Regions from separate parts of the Homo sapiens genome. Here region 2 is linked to region 1. The links are contacts of gene promoters, found by promoter capture Hi-C in human tissues and cell types (Jung and others, 2019). All regions are on one chromosome and are shown on one strand. The core of a region is centred on a gene start or on the middle of the fragment in contact, and the rest is flanking DNA. Distances in the headings are between cores, read along the strand shown.

What was found. The method cuts DNA at HindIII sites, captures the fragments that hold promoters and counts their contacts. A contact is called where the count stands out against the background at its distance.
Region 2: a fragment that was not itself captured here is called in contact with the fragment with the promoter of HMGN2 in region 1 in 1 of the 25 tissues and cell types used here (dorsolateral prefrontal cortex).

The regions. Positions count from the first base shown.
Region 1 is chr1:26,469,451-26,475,351 of GRCh38, reverse strand. HMGN2 (high mobility group nucleosomal binding domain 2) reads right to left here and starts at 2,912. Exons shown (of 6, transcript NM_005517.4): 1 at 2,725-2,912; 2 at 1,825-1,869; 3 at 1,620-1,649; 4 at 1,217-1,267; 5 at 685-780; 6 at 1-239. The coding sequence starts at 2,739. The coding sequence ends at 204. DHDDS (dehydrodolichyl diphosphate synthase subunit) reads right to left here. Exons shown (of 9, transcript NM_205861.3): 9 at 4,046-5,901. RefSeq lists silencers at 2,188-2,357, 2,398-2,687, 2,948-3,217, 3,102-3,517 and enhancers at 2,887-3,596, 3,597-4,305. The HindIII fragment of the contact is 14,054 bases long and covers 1-5,901 here.
Region 2 is chr1:25,896,938-25,902,838 of GRCh38, reverse strand. STMN1 (stathmin 1) reads left to right here. Exons shown (of 5, transcript NM_005563.4): 4 at 1,157-1,348; 5 at 1,752-2,723. The coding sequence ends at 1,823. Among named protein-coding and RNA genes, the nearest start is that of STMN1, 6.5 kb to the left of the region's middle. The HindIII fragment of the contact is 6,597 bases long and covers 1-5,460 here.

The DNA of each region.
Region 1 (5,901 bases), core at 1,663-4,162:
ATCCAGCTTTGGAGACATTCTATTAGTGACATATGCCCCTTCCCCCAAAAACAACAATGAAGTGTTCTGTGTGCTAACAACATAGCTTTTAAAAAAAAAAAAAAAGTAAAACAAAATTCTGCATTTTTATAAAACTTGATAAAAAATAGTATTTCAAACTGTACAGTCACCAGAAGTACACAGTTATCAAAAATGCACACACTTCACTTGGCATCTCCAGCACCTTCAGCTTTCTGTGCCTAAAAGAAAACAGACAAATTAATGCAATGCGTAGATTTCAAAACTATCTGTGTTCACATTCCACCTACAGCATCACTTTGCTCCCAGGCCAAAGTTCAGGTTTCAGGTACTGAGACTCAGTATTTCTTCTGAGAATGACTTACTAGGTAACTTTGCTAAGTCACCTCTCCTCTGGGCCTCACTGTAAAATTGAGGTAGGAAGAACACCAGAATAAGAGACCTGAGGTTACTCCTAGCTTGAAAACTTCATGTAGTATAAAACACAATGCCCTTCAGCTGACAGTAGAGATTTCAAGAATCCAGGATTTAAGTTAACAGGAAAGCCACAAGCACACTGGACCAAATGGTACATTTGGAGTGATACAAGAAAAGGGCAATTAAATTTTTGATATCAGCAACTAACTGAATGAACAAATCTAACAAAGGGTGAAACAGCAGTTATACCTGGTCTGTTTTGGCATCTCCATTTTCTGCAGGGTTATTCCCCTCCTTGCCAGCATCAGCTTTTCCCTTTTTCCCTTTGGGTACCTTCTCTCCCTTCTGAAAAAGGGGAAAAAATAGAACTGTTTCTCCCCATTTCGTATTACCAAGGTATGGTCTGCAAAGTTCTGCACAAGGTAGGATTGTTTACTCAAGATAAAACACAAACCCTCACCCATTTGACAAGAACAACTGATCAAAACTAGGCTAAATTATCTGTAATTTGCTATAATCTTTAGTACTTAGAATTTCCTAAGTAACAGAAGAATAAATTAGTTTAAACCCTGGGGTATTTAATATTTAAATGCAGATTTTCCTATAAACTAACAACAGAATTCTTGATCAGGAAACCAACGTTATGAATGACACGGACGAGGTAAGCTATCCACACAGTTTATAACCTCCATTAATGGAGGCACCATTATGCTAATTAAGTTAAGGCACTAAGGACAGTCCTCATTCTGTGAAAATGATCAGTTCCAATGTTAGCACTTACCTTTGCAGGGGCCTTTTTAGGCTTGGGCTCTGGCTTTGGAGGAGCAGGTTTCTTTTTTTGGCAGGAAGAGAGGAAAAAGTGAACATCAGTACAATGGACTGAAGAAAACCACCCACAACCAACCAAAAGTACCAAGGGTAGAGAAGTTTCTCCTCCTCCTCAAAAGTTTTTGTGGTTGGCTTTCTTCTAGAATGTTGGATTTCCAGAAGCCCACTCAAATGTCCCACTTTGGCTACAGGCATCAGAATTTCAGAACCAGCAAAACCCAAAGGGGCAAGAGTCCCAAGTAGAGGCAATGATTCAAAACCAGGCACTAACCATAATTCATGGAAGCAAAGGGAATTGTTTTTTGATGTTTTTTAGTTTCAGGGACAAGCACGAAAATTCAAAAGCATACACTTACAGCAGACAACCTCGCGGATCTTCTCTGTGGCTATTAAAGACAACGAGAAAGTTAGAAATAGGACAGGTAAGTCGCTTTGAAAGTTTGGTATCAATTTGCTCTAGATTATAGGAGTGTAAATTCAGGACACAGGTTACGGTTAATCACCGAGTCCAGTGGCCTCTGCTAGTCCAAGGCTTTGACCCTTGAAGAGAGAATGACTTACTTCGTCCTTCACCTTTGCTTTATCTCCCTTAGCATCCCCTTCAGCCTATAAGAAACAAGAACAAAAAACTGCAGATTTTGAGGTGGTTCTTAATTACTTCCCAAACTTTAGAGTGCTAAAAATGAAAATTAAAGCAGTCGTCCACACAACTTTTCTAGGACATAAATGAGTGAGCCCGACGTTCGTATAAGAACGAAGCGCGCGCAGGAGCTCCGGCTCGCCGACCCCGAGAAGCGAGGGCTGGACCGGAGCGCAGCCGGGGAGGGCAGCGGAGCCCGCACCACCGCGACAGGCAGGAGCAACAGCTGCAGATGGCGCAAACAAACCCCCTCCGGAGGCGGAGCCCAGCGCCGTTGCTATGGCAGCCGTCGAGGGCGGGAGAGGGAGGCGCGCGCAGCCCGGGGAACTCGTGGGCGGCGACAGCGCGCGTCTCGTGCGCGGGGAACGTGGGCGAGGGGGCGGGGCCATACCGCACAAGCCCCGCCCCTCACGGCGGCGGTTTTTTGGCGGCAGCGCTTTCCCCCGCCCGCCAACCCCGAGCGCCGCCTTCCCGCCCTTTCGGGTTTGAATTGCCCGCCCGCAGGGAGGGGAGGGAAGGGGCCCTCGCGATGGGGGAGGGGGCACGGGGCGGGGGCGGCGAGCCCGAGGAGAGCGGGATAAACAGCCGCCAACATGGCTCCTCCCGCCGCGGCCGCCGCTCCTCCAATATGGCCTCTGGCGCCCGCGGGCAGCCGAGCCGCTCAGGGTTAGCCCCGAGCTGCCCGACACCGTCTCCAGCCCCCGCGCGGGGAGGCTGCGCTGGCTCCTGCTCGGCGCCGATTCTCGCTCCCTGCACCAGGGAGGCGGCGGCGGCGGTGGCGGCAGTGGTGGCCCGGCGCCTGGGGCCCTCGCGCCACGTACCTTTCTCTTGGGCATGGTGGCGGCGGCGACGGCAGCGGGACGTAGGTGCTGGACGCGGGATGCAGCGGCGCGCGGGCTTTGGTCGGTCCGGGGGTCGTTCTCGCCTCTTCTTCACACTGCTCGGGCTCCGGGGGGTTTATAAAGTTTTTATAGCGCTGGGAGCCCCGGACCGGTTAGAACCGGATTTCACCTCCCGCCGCCGTTCATTGGCCCAGCTGGGGTCACGTGGGCGGGGTTTAAACTCACCTCCTCTGGAGGGAGTGAGGAGGGGGGTGTGTGGGGGGGGTAGTGCGCGGAGACGGCGGCGCGCCGAGGGGGTGGGGGCGCAGTCGGGGTGGCGCGCGTCGAAGGCAGTAAATGAGGAGGGGTGCGCGAGTCGGCGGGCTCCGGGTTCCGGCTCCCGCCAAGAGCTGTCTTTTGCAAACTAGCAAGTTCCTTCCACCTTATGCAACCCAGCAACCCACTTCTCCAAGCCGTGCGACACTCACGGCGCATCTCAGCGGCTTTCCTTCCTGCTCCCGCTGGGGGCCCCAGAAGAGGGGTTTGCGAGGCCTGGCTGCACTGCCCTGCTCCTCTGGAAGCAGGAGGAAGCGCGCGGCTGGAGGCACAGGCTGCAGTTCCCAGAGCCCAGGCTGACGCCAAAGTGGGAAAAAGGCGGGGAAACCAGCTTGGCGCAGCCGGACGTGCATCCTTCCGAGCTGCCACTTCGGAGAAGCCTTTCGTGCACCTCACCTGAAAGACGGTCCCACTCGAGGTGGGCTAGGGGTTTCAGGGGGAGACTTTCCATGCAGAGGTGCCTTTTGGGTGCCGTGGGTCAGGTAGGAGCTGTCCTTTCAGCACCCGTTGCGCAGCCGCCTCCCCAAATGCTATCGAAGCCCCCACCCCCAACTCCTCTCGGGTGGCTCCCTTAAGGTCCCTGTATTCCCAAACCTCCAGACCCCGCCACAGTATGGTGGAGAGCGGCCGTCGAGGTCTACCAGCACTCACTTCCCCCTACACTCTACCCCTCTCGGAGACATTTTGCCCAGCTGCCCAACCCGACGCGGCCACCAAGCCTGGGCACTGCAGCCGCAGCTGGCGAAATCCCTCCTTCCACACTGTCAAGCTGGCTGCCTTTCACTTGCGCGAGGAAAGGAGGGTGGAGGAAAGCGCCCGGGGATTAGGAAACAAGTAGAGGAACAGGTGGTGTGATGGCAAAAGGGCTCTTCCGGTGCCCCCTAGTCCAAAGCCAGGGTCTTGGAGCTAGCCAAGTGCACCTGAGGGAGGGTAGGCAATTGCAGCAGCAAAAGAAGGTGTTCTTCCGTTGCAGTTAGCAAACAAGTTTTACATCTAAGAATCTTTAAAAATTCTATTTGAGACCCAGCACACAAGAATACGATAGATGTCCTCAAATGGGGGCTTGGCTCACAGGTGGAAGGACACTAAATTGGTCCCATCTGATTTCTTGAGGCAAGGGTTGAACCTGGCTTGCACAAATCACACCTGTCCAAAGCAACCACGAGTTCTACTATTTTGCAGCCCTTGCTGCTGGGCGACGACGACGACCTCTCTGCCTCTTCTTTCCACCACTACATCGCCTCCTGGGGCAGCTTCTCCCTACTCCACCCTGTGTACCTTTCCCAGAATACAGAACCTCAGGCCAAAGAGAGATGCCAGCCCCATTAATCACCTCTACTGTACCCCAATCATATTACGGAAAGTCAGACCCAGGAGACAGGACTCAACAGCCACGCTCATAGGGCAGATTCCGTTTGCTGCCTCCAGCCCCTCATTCCCGCCTTAATTGTAGGGCTCTGCATTATAGCCGCATAATTCATGCCTCCCTAATTATGGCTGTCAACAGCCCCATTGTAAAGCTGTAAAATGTACAGCACCTGCTCTCCAGGAACCCTGTGCCAGGGATTGGTAGAGGGGAGTGCCAGGTGTGGATGGGGGCTTTGCCAAAGGGTTCACTGATTGGCTTCTCAATCGCCGTGTCTGGCATTTATGCTTGATTCTGGGAGCATGGACAATAGCCAAGAAGTCTCTTGCCGCCAGGTATCCCGGGACAGAAAGGGGAAGAGGCGGGTGGGGTATAGGAAAGTTAGGGGTTTCCTGTGTGCTCTTGCTACAACTTGCAAGATTTCACCTCTCCCCTAGAGGGAGCTGCTAGGGAAACAGCTTGCAGAAAGTAAAATGGGAAGTCTGGCATGGTGGCTCATGCCTGTAATCCCAGCACTTTGGGAGGGTGAGGCCGGCGGATCACCTGAGGTCAGGAGTTCGAGACCAGCCAGGACAGGGTGAGATGCTGTCTCCAAAAAAAAAAAAAAAAAGAAGAAGGAAAATGGACTTTAAAGAGAGTAGCATTTGGTTGGTGTTGCTGGCTGGTACTTGCCGGTGTGGGGCACCTGAAATAGAGTTGCTCAGGCAGACAGCTCTTCAAAGGCACTAATCCTCTCAGCAGCTCTGCAGCAAGTCCTGGCAGAGGGAGGTAAGGGAAAGGACACAGCTTTGACCCTCACAAGCAGAGGACCTAGAACAAGCTTTGCCATGCCAAGAATAAATCATCTAGGGCCTACTTAGGGAGCCAGGTCAAAAAGCTGAGAGAAACCTCGAAGAGTGGAGTGGGAATCAGAGTTTGAGATGGTGAGGGCAGGGAGCAGAGTCAGTTGGAAGAAGTGTTTGGTTCTGCTCAGTCCTGTTGTGTTACAGGGGAGGCCTGTGCTGGATTCAGTTCACCAGGGCCTACAGGCCCTTCTGTTACCCTGAACCATGGAGGGGGCCAGTCTCATTTGGGAGTGGAGCCTGGCCCCATGCCCTGCAAGAGGAGGAGAAAAGCTTGTGTGGGCTGAGTCGACAATAGGTAATTGGATTGTAATCGCCCGCCTGGCTTCCGCGCACCATTGGGGGTGCTGAGTCTTTCAGTGAGCAATCAGTACTGTGTGGTGGGAGAGGGTAGAGATTCAATAGCAAATCCCAGGTGGAGAGCCAAGGGGGAGGAGCAGCAGATGGGCAAATTTTCTGTCTCTCCCACCCCTTTTTTCCTTACCCAAATAACTGCCTGCCTATTAGTTATTTACTAGCAGATCCAAGGTAGAGCCAAATCTTTTGTGGAAGCTGGGTGGAAGGCTAAAATGGAAGGGTAAAGAGCTAGGGTTTTGGGGAGAACTCTTCCCTGAAATTCTGTGTGTTGAAGGA
Region 2 (5,901 bases), core at 913-3,412, 570 kb after region 1:
GTAGTATACACACACACCCGCCCGAAGAGCCTCAGTGCTTACACTAAGGAGTCGTCTTCTATGCAATAGTGTGAGTTCATGGAGTAGGAGGAAGCAATACAACCAAAGGTTGGACAGTGGAAAGCTTTTTAGACATCAACCCTGGCCCTGTAGTCATTAGCCTGTGCTTTACATAGTAACTGGCTAAATATAATGAAACTCCCATCATGACTAGGATTTGGCAGAAGAGAATCAATAGAACCAGTGTCAGATGCTCTGTGGTTATCCTGCAAGTCAGTGGTTCCAATGTGTTTTGAGAACAAGCTGTTCTGTTGAAGGGGTCATACCAAGGTATGGTCTGGTAATTAATGCAGTTTCCTGAGACAAAAGCTAATAAGCCTTTTCCTTGAAACAAATTTTTCTGTCTTAAATAGTAATCTACAGACTTAGTCTTGAATTTCCTATCATTGTTTTATCAGTTATGGTTAAAATTTTTACAATGAGCTAGTTTTCTTTGGGTAGCTTTTGAAGTTAAATAGTGAAATTCTTTACAATAAAAGTGCCACTCGCAAGTACATATTCCTCAAGTCATCCAGATACCATTAAGCAGTAAATCTTACAAGGATTTCCTTAAGGACTAATTGGGTAAGATTTCTGAACAGATAAGCACTTTTCCAAAGTTAAATACAAATACTAGAAAAAGAATATCATTTTCACAGTATTTTATGATAGGGATAATTCAGGTCCTAATTTTGGTGTTATTTAAAGGGACCTTATTTTCTGCCCCTTTTCAATCCCCTTAGTAAATTATTTTTATTGTAATTTTAACTTATGCTGAATACATTTTATTTTTTGAGGCAGAGTCTCTGTCACCCAGGGTGGAGTGCAGTGGCACGATCTCAGTTCACTGCAACCTCCACCTCCCGGGTTCAAGCAATTCTTCTGCCTCAGCCTCCCAAGTAACTTAGACTACAGGCACCCGCCACCACGCCCGGCTAATTTTTGTATTTTTAGTATAGGTAGGATTTCACCATGTTGGCCAGGCTGGTCTTGAACTCCTGACCTCAAATGATCCACCCACCTTGGCCTCCCAAAGTGCTGGGATTACAGGCGTGAGCCACCACACCCAGCCTGAATACATTTTAGAGTGCCTAGCCTATTAAACTTTTTTTTCCAGTCCCATGAAGCTGAGGTCTTGAAGCAGCTGGCTGAGAAACGAGAGCACGAGAAAGAAGTGCTTCAGAAGGCAATAGAAGAGAACAACAACTTCAGTAAAATGGCAGAAGAGAAACTGACCCACAAAATGGAAGCTAATAAAGAGAACCGAGAGGCACAAATGGCTGCCAAACTGGAACGTTTGCGAGAGAAGGTTGGTTTCTTACTTTGTAAAAGGGTTGAGCTTGGAGTTTGATGCACCAATGAGTTGGCTTGAACTAAGTGCTTTGATAAAAGGTGTTTGGTGTCTTTTTGTCATCCATTTTGGGGCTTAACATATTAAATGAAAGGTATATTTTAAGATGGAATATTCAGTAATTCCCAGCATAATTGCACAGTCCTTGGAAGTCCAGTAGGCAGCTTGTTAGGTTCTACAAGGGACCCAGGAGATTTGATGATGATGTCTCAGAACTTAAATTGTGTGGTTCCCACAGGCTGTAATATATGCACTGAGGTTGTGTTGGGCCTCTTTGAGGTGGGGGCTGGGGGTCGTGACTTGACAGGCTTTTTTTTTTTTTTTTTTTTTTGACTGATGACACCTTACCCTTCCTTTACAGGATAAGCACATTGAAGAAGTGCGGAAGAACAAAGAATCCAAAGACCCTGCTGACGAGACTGAAGCTGACTAATTTGTTCTGAGAACTGACTTTCTCCCCATCCCCTTCCTAAATATCCAAAGACTGTACTGGCCAGTGTCATTTTATTTTTTCCCTCCTGACAAATATTTTAGAAGCTAATGTAGGACTGTATAGGTAGATCCAGATCCAGACTGTAAGATGTTGTTTTAGGGGCTAAAGGGGAGAAACTGAAAGTGTTTTACTCTTTTTCTAAAGTGTTGGTCTTTCTAATGTAGCTATTTTTCTTGTTGCATCTTTTCTACTTCAGTACACTTGGTGTACTGGGTTAATGGCTAGTACTGTATTGGCTCTGTGAAAACATATTTGTGAAAAGAGTATGTAGTGGCTTCTTTTGAACTGTTAGATGCTGAATATCTGTTCACTTTTCAATCCCAATTCTGTCCCAATCTTACCAGATGCTACTGGACTTGAATGGTTAATAAAACTGCACAGTGCTGTTGGTGGCAGTGACTTCTTTTGAGTTAGGTTAATAAATCAAGCCATAGAGCCCCTCCTGGTTGATACTTGTTCCAGATGGGGCCTTTGGGGCTGGTAGAAATACCCAACGCACAAATGACCGCACGTTCTCTGCCCCGTTTCTTGCCCCAGTGTGGTTTGCATTGTCTCCTTCCACAATGACTGCTTTGTTTGGATGCCTCAGCCCAGGTCAGCTGTTACTTTCTTTCAGATGTTTATTTGCAAACAACCATTTTTTGTTCTGTGTCCCTTTTAAAAGGCAGATTAAAAGCACAAGCGTGTTTCTAGAGAACAGTTGAGAGAGAATCTCAAGATTCTACTTGGTGGTTTGCTTGCTCTACGTTACAGGTGGGGCATGTCCTCATCCTTTCCTGCCATAAAAGCTATGACACGAGAATCAGAATATTAATAAAACTTTATGTACTGCTGTAGCAACTCCTGTGAAATGACTAAAGGGAACCTTAATTATTTCTAAAGTAGCATTTGACTCGGGTGGTTAAGGTTGGCAGATACGTCATCTTGTATCCAGAGGCTGTAATAGTCCCCATTGTCAGTGCTTTGCCTCTCAATTCAGGGAACGCCTTTGGCAGCTTTCCTGTGCTATTTGAGAAATAGCCTAATTATACATATTTTGTGCCTCTCAGACATCTGTATAAAAGCTCTTGGAAGCCAAGCACTTATAGCAAAAGATGATTGCTAATACTGCGGTGGGGTCCATGTGTTGCTAACGCATGTGCCTCTGCTGCTTGGGCTGTATCTTGAGATTGGGGTTTTACCAAACTTATTCATGAGAACAATAACAGCCTACCTCAACTTACCTCCTAAGATTGTTAGGATTAAATGGGTTTGTGGCAAGAGAGCACACTTAGAACATAGATATTTAGCATTCCGTATAAATCACGATTACTGTTTTCAACCAGAGGCTAATGAGTGATCTAAGTTTATACTCTTGAGTTGGAAATTATGCAGTTTTTATATTCCTTAAATTGACTTTTAAATTTACTTAAATGATCAATCAGAGGAATTCTGAACAAAGCTTGGTTTAAGGAGTTACGCCCATGTAGGGCAAATAGGAGCAAGTGCAAGTATAGTTGAATACAACAATAGGTTCTGAGCAATATCTAAACCAAGAGGACAGGATGAGGCTTGTGTGCAGTGGTGCAGCACAGTTCATCTTGGCTCCTGTCTCTGGCACATAGCAGGTGCTCTGGGATCTTTAAAATACCAGTTCTGAATAGATGGGAATATAAAGAGGGCCTGAGGGTAGAAACTTGGCATAATGATACGAGGTGTCCTACAAGTGGCAGTGAGCTTTTGTTCATCTAAGACATTTAGGGAGGGAAACTGGCCTCAGGAGAAAGCAAGGGAAGGATCAACAGGCCTGAAAGGATGCCTCATCAGTTACCACCCATCCCATGGTGGCCCTGACTTCCTATCAGAGGGCGATCCTGAGCCCCTGCCTTGTGACAGGCTTAAGTCACAGGAAACTGAAGGGGATGCATCTTACCACAGAAATAGAAGCTCTGGCTTTTCTATTTCACCTTGACCTTTGGAGAAGCACTTAGTCCTGGGCCCCCATTTTCTCCTGGATAAAATGAGATGGTTGGGGGAGATCAGTTAAGTAACTTTCACTCCCCCATTCTTTGCATCTGGCTTGGAGTGAAGAGGAGGAGCGGTGGCACCTACGAGCTTCTGGGGAAGTGTCTCTGGGTATGCATTCCCGGGCCCGGCATTCTCTGCCATCACGGGAGTCTGCGTCTGTCCCAGTGGGGCCAGCCTCTCCCAGCAGTACTTCCAATAGATTGGCCTAATAAGGCCAGAGTGGTTTGACAAGCAGTTGGGGCTGTCACCAAGGAGCAGACTCCATTCCTTTTGTCTTGAATGGAAAATGAGGCTTGTCCCTTCCTGAGGATTTTGTACTTGGGCCTTATGGTTGACTGGGCTCAGTGGAGAGAGGTTTGAAGGACGTGAAGGAGGCCCTTAAATTAACATTTGACAAGCACCTAGATTGTGCTCCACACTGGCCTTTGCGCTAGGGATGGAGAAAAGATGGGGTGGGACCAGCATATCACGTGCCCATGTGAGGGGAAGGAGAGCTGTAGAATGCTTACTTACCTGAGGGTGAGGCTCTCGACCACATACTTGTACTCACCAGGGTGCTTTAGTGCTTTGGTGAAAGGAGTGACCACAGAGGGCTTTGTGGTCTGGGAAGCTTTGAGAGGAGAAAGGACATGAGCTTGTCCTTTTGGAAGTCAGATGAACCTTCCAAGCCAAACCCCAATAAAGCACTTAATTGTTAAACACTTAGTAAGCCTGTGATTGCCACGTGCACAGAGAACCTGCCATAGTTAATGGCCTTTGGCAGGCCCTCCAGGCAGGCCCCCTCCCCATTTTTTTATTCTAAGCAGTGGAGGCTCTTTGAAGGCTTTTGAATGTGGGGGGCTGCAGTGGTCAGTAACAAAACCATTTTAAGGAAGAGAAAGTGGAGGCAGGGTGAGTTGACTGGAGAGTGGCTGCCGTTCAGGCTACGGTGGCCATGGTGGCTGTTGGGGCAGCACAGGGATGAGGTGGGAGGGCCTGCTGGGCTCTGGAGCAATCCATGTGACTGACACTGCACTGAGGAACTGGGACATGTGCTCTAAACTTGGGAAGCTGGAGGAGAAAGAAATCACTCCACTTGGGAAAATGGCAGTGCTACTATTTACTGAGCACTTAACGTCCAGGCATCGTGTTCATTTTCTCCACCATAGAGAAGTGAACAGGCAGAGTAACGTACCCAAGGTCCTAAGCTAGTAGGAGAAGCTTACCCAGGCAGATCTGCTCTAAGCCCTGCACAGGAAGGGGGGCTGCTCTGACAGCTCAGCATCCCCTCGTTGCCCGGAACAATTCCCCTCTGCCTCAGACCTGCTCACAAGTCTCAGCAAATGAAAGCCCTACTATTCAGCCGTTCCCACCTCCTTAAAAAGGCAGGGCCTCTTATCCTTGCATGCCTTGGAGTGAGGTCTCATCCCCCACCCCCAGCACCTTTATAAAGGTGCTCCTGTCTACTCTGTATCATTCTCCCAGTGGAGAATTCTGATTTTCAGTGATGTTTTAGCTGTCCCGGTAAACCTGTGCACCCAGATGACAGTTTGGCTACCTTACTGCGAATTCATTTGTTTGAATCACTGTTAAATGTGGTTCATTTAGGAATACAGAAGATAAAGGCCAAATTTTTTCTTTTCTTTTTTTTTTTTTTTCGAGACAGTCTTGCTCTGTTGCCCAGGCTGGAGTGCAGTGGCACGATCTTGGCTCACTGCAACCTCCGCCTCCCCAGTTCAAGCGATTCTCCTGCCTCAGCCTCCCAAGTAGCTGGGATTACAGGCGTGCACCACCGTGCCTGGCTAATTTTTGTATTCTTAGTAGAGACAGGGTTTCACCACGTTGGCCAGGCTGGTCTTGAACTCTTGACCTCATGATCTGCCTGCCTCAGCCTCCCAAAGTGCTGGCATTACAGGCATGAGCCACCGCGCCTGGCAAGGCCAAGTTTCTTATAGAAAAGCTTCCCCCTTTGGATGGAGGTTGGACTTAGATGCCCTAGAAGTTCCCTTCCAAATCCAAGACTGATTCTCTA